Regions from separate parts of the Homo sapiens genome. Here region 1 is linked to region 2. Evidence: promoter capture Hi-C in 16 types of primary human blood cells and fetal thymus (Javierre and others, 2016). All regions are on one chromosome and are shown on one strand. Each heading gives the region's core, a stretch centred on a gene start or on the middle of the fragment in contact. The rest is flanking DNA. Distances are from core to core; before and after follow the strand shown.

Evidence for each region. The method cuts DNA at HindIII sites, captures the fragments that hold promoters and counts their contacts. A CHiCAGO score of 5 or more calls a contact.
Region 1: a contact is called between a fragment that was not itself captured here and the fragment with the promoter of PHLDA1 in region 2, in 1 of 17 cell types (total CD8 T cells). The highest score is 6.1, in total CD8 T cells.

Annotation. Positions count from the first base shown.
Region 1 is chr12:76,552,988-76,556,397 of GRCh38, forward strand. All of the region lies in intron 1 of OSBPL8 (oxysterol binding protein like 8), which reads right to left. Among named protein-coding and RNA genes, the nearest start is that of OSBPL8, 5.1 kb to the right of the region's middle. The HindIII fragment of the contact is 241 bases long and covers 2,032-2,272 here.
Region 2 is chr12:76,030,526-76,034,129 of GRCh38, forward strand. PHLDA1 (pleckstrin homology like domain family A member 1) reads right to left here and starts at 1,251. Exons shown (of 2, transcript NM_007350.3): 1 at 1-1,251. The coding sequence starts at 1,216. The coding sequence ends at 11. It overlaps PHLDA1-AS1 (PHLDA1 antisense RNA 1), which reads left to right. Exons shown (of 2, transcript NR_186034.1): 1 at 1-69; 2 at 386-853. PHLDA1-DT (PHLDA1 divergent transcript) reads left to right here and starts at 1,288. Exons shown (of 2, transcript NR_185978.1): 1 at 1,288-2,277; 2 at 2,739-3,604. RefSeq lists a silencer at 787-936 and an enhancer at 1,157-1,406. The HindIII fragment of the contact is 8,299 bases long and covers 1-3,604 here.

The DNA of each region.
Region 1 (3,410 bases), core at 902-3,401, 520 kb after region 2:
GTTATTATAATCATAACAATGCACAAAATTACACACTAAGCAAAGCTAGTCTCCAGAAGTCCCTCATCCTACTCTCCACTTGAACAATGTACCTGTGCCCTCACATCCAAAGCACCCCACCTCATTACTCTACCCGGTAATAATGTTACTTAGATTGAACTTCTCTCTCTCCAGATCTACCATACTTCCATCCCATCAAAATATACCAACATAGATTCCATAATTTCCACATGGGCCCCAGCCTTCCTTGTAAAAAATTATGTAATCTGACAAACTATTCCTGCTAATATGTAGGCATTTGGCAGCCAAAAAGCAAAAATTACCTTACTGGTGGTCATCTCAACAGGACAGATTTCAACTGTACAGATCTGTGTCCCTCAAATATCACTAAATAGGCCTGGCATGGCAGCTCACATCTATAATCCCAGCACTTTGGGAGACCAAGGTGGGAGAATCATTTGAGGCTAGGGGTTCAAGACCAAGCTGGGCAACATAGTGAGACTCTGTTTCTAAAAAAAAAAAAAAAAACTTAAAAATTAGCCAGGTGTGATGGTATTCGCCTGTAGTCCCAGCTACTTGGGAGGCAGAGACAGGAGGATCACTTGAGCCTGGGAGGTCGAGGCTGCAGTGAGCCATGGTAGTGAGTGCCACTGCACTCCAGCCTAGGTGACAGCTCAAGACCCTGTATCAGAAGAAAAAAAAAAAAGGCCAGAGGAGGTAGCTCACGCCTGTAATCTCAACACTTTGGGAGGACGAGGCAGGTGGATCACTTTACGTCAGGAGTTCGAGAACAGCCTGGCCAATATGGTGAAACCCCATCTCTACTAAAAATACAAAAAATTAGCTGGGCATGGTGGCATGCACCCGTAATCCCAGCTACTCAGGAGGCTCAGGCATGAGAATCACTTGAAACCGGGAGGCAGAGGTTGCAGTGAGCCAAGATCACACTACTGCACTCCAGCCTAGGTGACACAGTGAGACTCTATCTCAAAAAAAAAAAAAAAAAAACACTAAAAAAAAATGCATACCAATTCTGTGAATCAGCCTTATTCTTTAAAACTATTTTTTAATTATAACAACTTAGCTTTAAATACTGTTATCTATTATGTTCTTTAATTTCCAGTTACTCCGAAATTCTCTGAAATTCCCCAGTGAGAAAATGGCAACTGGATGAACAATAAAATAAATATTTGCTTTACTCTAAGTATTTTTAAGATTTAAAAATAGGATGTCAGTCAAATACAAGTAAAATGAGAGAAAAAAAATCAAGGCTATATTCCATCTTCTTATAAAGTAAAGTGCATTTTGTAAATGACACAACTAAAACAGACTCAGGAAGATCACAAGGTCAAGACGTATCAAGAGGAGCAACTGCAAATAAATTATACAAGGCAGTATATAATATGATGGTTAAAAGGATAGGCTCCAAAGTCAAAGGTCAGGTTAAACCTCAAGTTTAAATCCTTTTAGTAGGCTCTACCACCTACTACTTAACTTCTCTGTGCCTCAGGTTTAGTTCAAATCCTGGCTCCACCACTTATTTAATCTGTCAGTTGCTCAGGTTTAAAAAAAAGAAAATAGCCTGATTGCGGGGTGGTTGTCAGGATCAAATGTGATGACATGTCAAGTACTTCTAGAGTAGTACAGTACCTGGTATATAGCAGTTGACGCACATTAGCTATTAATATGACCTATAACAATTTCCCTCTGAATCTATCAAGTTTTCAAAAACTCTAAATCAAAAAGCTTCTCCTTTTTATTTGAAAAAAGTCAAGCTCTGAAACCATTTCCTCTTTTTTTCAGTCCTTTTTGAATATGGAAATTAGTAGGTAACTGGCTTATCATTTGATGACTCTTCTTAGTCTTTGTATAATAAAAAGGCTCAAGACTCTTCTTAGTCTTTTTATAATAAAATTCTCTTCCAAATATTATACAAAGGACAGACTGCTCCATGGATCAAAAACACTACAAAGAGTTCACAAAGTATAATGAAATTCTGAGATTCATAAATGAACAGCTACTGGCACAAAAAGCTTAGATAAGAAATAATGCAGATGTCTGTTTGTTTGCTCAAGAAATACTGAATTTTATAATAAAACACAGATGGTAGAGATCTTCATGGCTTATAGTCACATCACTAAAAACAGAAAATATTTTTGGTAAATTTTTTCTTAACAACCAGAAAACCCCTTATTTCATCACAACAATGAATAGATAAATGACATTACAGGCAAAGACAATTTCTTCAAAAACAAATTACGTAGAGAAAAAAAGCTTAAAGGCTCAGATTTTCAGCTACACATATCCCTTACTTTGAGCTTCAAAAATTTGAGGCTTCTAGCACTCCTTGTGGTCTGTAACATTAAGCAGTAATACAATTAGGCCTCATTTCTACCAGAAAACATTAAACTGACTGAAAGAAAATTATCTAGAATTTTGATTCTGATCAATTTAAACATAATGCCATGAGTCATCTAGATGAGTCAAGCAAATATTAGAGTTCATGATAAACGAATCAAAATATGTTTTAAAGATCTGCAGACAAACGTTTTAATAATTTTGTATTTGCTGAAGTCCTCCTATGTGTGACACATTGAGGTAGGCACATTCATATTGAGGTATGCACTTTCACATGCATTATATAACTTTGTTCTCCCAACGATCATGGATTATTATCCTGATTTTACAAATGAGAAAACTAAGACCAAGTGATTGGCCGATGGAAACGACGCTTGTATAAGATTCAGTCAGAACACCAATTCAAATTTTCTGACCCTTATCGTACTTCCAAAACTCAAGTACTGTCAATCTCTGCTGTTGCAAAGCAAGTTAATCTTTTTATTTAGGGAGAGGTGAAAATAGAGATGGGAGAATAAAAATTCTTCATAATGTTACAAAAAAAGACTTACTGTGCTTTATCTGACATAATTTATTCAGTCTGACTTAAATGCTTTGCTGCACGTTGTCTACCCCCTTAGACACTGCTTATCTTCAGACACACAGCCCACACCAAAACCTAACTCAAGAATCACCTCCTCCAAGAAAGTTTCCCAGATTAAATGACCTGTTCCCCTTCTCCCAAGCTAACATCCTTCCTTTATCATTTCGCTGCTTGCATTTAGTTTGGACTACATTATCAGATACTCCTTTTGTTCTCCAGTCATATATCTGGAAGTAGACTTTTTTCATTCATTAACTATTGAACATTTGGAGATTCAATGGTGAGCAAAACAGACAAGGTCCTTGCTATCATGGAGAATTTACATTATCTGGATCTTCGACAAAGGTAAAAATAACAGGGTATAAGAATATGATGCTCTAGGACTAGGATTTCTTCCCTATAAGGTCTCCGAAAATAGCTCTCTCCCTTGCAAGCTTGATAACACTTTTCAGGAAGAAAAATTCCTTCT
Region 2 (3,604 bases), core at 1-2,500:
GCTGCCCCTTTCAGGCAGAGTTGGAGGTGCTGCGGAGAAGCCGGTGCCCGTGCGGCTGCGAGTGCGGCTGTGGGTGTGGGTGCGGTATTTGGTGCGGATGCGGGTGCGGGTGAGGGTGTGGGTGCGAGTGAGGATGAGAGTGTGGATGTGGATGTGGATGCGGATACGGGTGGAGCTGCTGGGGCTGAGGCTTGGGTTGGGGCTGAGGCTGGGGTTGTGATTGGGGCTGGGGTTGCGGCTGAGGCTGAGGCTGGGGTTGGGGCTGGAGCTGCGGCTGCGGCTGCGGCTGCGAGGGGGGCTGCTGCTGGACCAGGTGCTGCTGCTTCTGCCGCGTGGATTTGACCGCCAGGATGGCCTGACGATTCTTGTACTGCACCATCTGCAGCGTGATCTCGGCGTTCCAGCCCTGGTCTTGCGGGCACCGAAAGTCGATCTCCTTGCCCTCTGCCATCACCACAGTGAAGTACATGTACTTGCCCTTGCGCTCCACACAGTCCACGGTCTTCATGTTGGAGAAGTGCAGTTCCTTGAGCTTGACCGGCGGCTCGAGGCTGGCGACAGCGGGGCCACTGGGTTGGGACGGCTCGGCCGGCCCCTGCCCGGGCTGTTGTTGCTGCTGCTGCTGCTGCTGTTGCTGCTGCTGCTGCTGGTGTTGCAGCTGCTTGGGCGGGATAAGCAGCAGCCCTTCCTCGGTGAGGATGCAACACTTTTTCTTCCAGAGCTGCAACAACCCGTCGCTGCGCTTCTCCAGCACGCCCTCCTTCAGCGCTTTGCAGCCGCTACTCTCCAGCATCCTCCCAGCATAAGAGGGGCCGCCGCTTGGCTCGGCCTCTCCGTTTCCAGCCGCGCGGGCCGGGGGCAGCAGCAGCAGCCTCGCGCCGTCCTCGCCCCAGCGGCTCCCACGGCCGCCTGCCCGGAGCGCGCAGAGGAGGCTAACACGCAGGAGGCAGAGCGGCGGCGGCGGCTCTGGGTCCCGGCAGAGGGACAGCCGCGTCCTGATGCGCCACAAGGTCCCGGAGCTCCGAGCTGCCGGGCCTCTGCCGTCCTCTTGCGAGCGCTCACTGAAGGGCACTGGCCGGGCCCCCTCGCGGCGCTTTTGAATGGGCCATCTTCCCCACCCCCGAGTGACACCCAGCGGAAAAGGCGGCTCCTGGCGCCCGCACCGCGGGGGAAAGCCCAGCTCCAAGAGGCGCTCGGCAGCCGGCGCACGCCTCATTAACTTGGGGCCTTTCCAAAGCCCGCTGCGTCCACGCCCTCCAGCGTCTCTTGCTCCGCCTCTCGCCGCCCACTTGCTTCCGCGCTCGTTCCCCTGGAAGGCGACCCGGACCCGAGCCCCGGAAACTCCTCTCCTCTACCCAGGGCGATCGCCCAAGGAGCCCTGGCTGCCTGACTACTGCCGACGCTCACAGGGCGCTGCGAGGCCATCCCCCGCGTCCCGCTTCTCCCCGGCCCGCGGGACTCTCTGCTAACAGCCTCAGAAAGTGAGGACGGGGGCGCGGAGGCGGGGGCAGCCTCCAGGCAGTGCTGCCTCTCGGTTCTTGGGAATTAGCCCGGGGGATTCGCGCTGGGCTCCGAGAGCCCGCAGAACCAGCGTCGTGTCCTGGGCGAGCTGGGAGGCCGGGGCCGAGTCCCGCGAGTCCCGCGAGTGTGCCTCCCCCGGACGCCTAGGTAAACAACTGAGCGCACAGAGGCCGAGAGGACATCGTGTCTTCCCACGCATATTCGCTCACGGTCACTAAGTAGCTCTTCTTGGAAAGAGGGCGATTGTTAAAGCAATAGTGCGACTGTCGGGCTTGCCACGGGTGGAGAGAGGCGGACCCACGTCAGGTCGCATCTCGCCTGCTTTTCTCGACCCCGACCGCAGGCGCTAACCCGTCTTCGGCTTTCTTCTTGACCCGTACGGTTTGCAACGTCTCTTAAAACAGTAACTCAACTCTCTACAAACCGGGGTAATATCCGGTGCTGAGATCCCACACTGCAAGGCGCAGTTCCAAACGTCTGGTCGGCCTCGCAGGTCCCTCTTTCCAAGGCCTAGCCAGATCTTGGTTTTGGAATCTCATTTATCTGTGACCTGGGGAATGCAATACCCCCAGCTCCCTCCTACTCCTACATTTAAACAATGCCTATAGAAGCCGCTTCCTGGGAAGTAAGGCATAACCGAGACCTAGCCTCCCGGTAGGGAAGTTCATCCGTTTAGTAAACAGCCCCAACTACGTGCGGACCCTCACGGGGATACGAAGAATTCAACCAGGGCTGGACAAGTCAGAGTGGGCCAAGGTAAGAGTTACGGCTGCTACTGTGCCCACGTTGGAACAGATAGATTAGTTCATCTGCTAGTTGTGTGGCAAGAGCAAAGAATTCAAGAGGGGAAGAGAAAGTGAGAGGAGCTTAGAGAGCTAAGCAAGAATCGAATCCTTTGTGTGTCATGGTAAGAAATTCGAACTTAATACCAAGGTAGTCAGAACAAAGGACAACTTTTATACACGAGGGCGTCCTGAATATTCATCTAAGAAACAATGTCTGATCAAACGGGACAATCCAGCCAGCAATCCTGAGTCCCACCGGATTATGCTTGGCCAGCTTTCTAGCCTTCACATTGTTAATTTATTAGCAATCTTTTCAGGAGAAAGGCAATTATTAAAATTATGTGGACTTCTAGTAAAATTATCTCGAAGATTTACAATTATGTATACCAATAACAAAAAAACTACATGTTTTCTGCTCCCCTGCCTTTGTAGGACAAGTGAGCATTCCAGAGAATTTCTACATGACCAGCTGTTCATTCTTTTAAGAGGATGACATTCTTCAGCTCATCTGGAAAGGATACTTCCTTTAAGTCTGTTATTCACAGTCTCCAAGGGCAGGTGTAGTTGGGAAAGACATTTCATATGGAAAAACAAACTTGATAGGGTAAAAAAAAAAAAAATGAGATGTAATCTGGAGGCCCAAGTCATTTTCTTAGGAGAAACTCAAATGTGTTTGGTGTTATCTAACCTTCTGCAGTTTATCAGTCTGAAACAAATGCATTCTATTCTCATTTGAAAATGTCTGAACAGCCACCAATTTTCAAAATCACCCATTTAACTAGAGACTTTAAAGCCCAGAATTTGCAGTTACGTATTTCAGAATGATTTAGTAATTTTGTGAGCAGCTCAGAGGTTAAGTCTACAATGTCTGACTACGGTGCATTATTGAAAATATCAGTAGTGTAAGGATCCCGTAGATTGGTGATAACTTTGCTCTTGTTATTTCAACAGTTACCACCAACAGTTGGTGACTTAACAAATTAAGAGCATAGTTGCCATATGCTCATATTTGGCAAATATGTCAAAATGGCCATATTTGCCAATTTTTAAGACAATAAATTCACAGAAAATGCATTACAGAAAATAACTTAAAAAAAAAAAAAACAACTTTTGGGCCAGGCATGGTGGTTCACACCTGTAATACCAACACTCTAGGAGGCTGAGGTGAGAGGATCCCTTGAGCCCAGGAGTTTGAAACCAACCTGGGCTACATGGCAAGGCCTCCCTCTACAAATGTAAAAAAAAAATTAGCCAGGTGTGGTGGCATGCGCCATGTAGCCCCAGCTACTTGGGAGGCT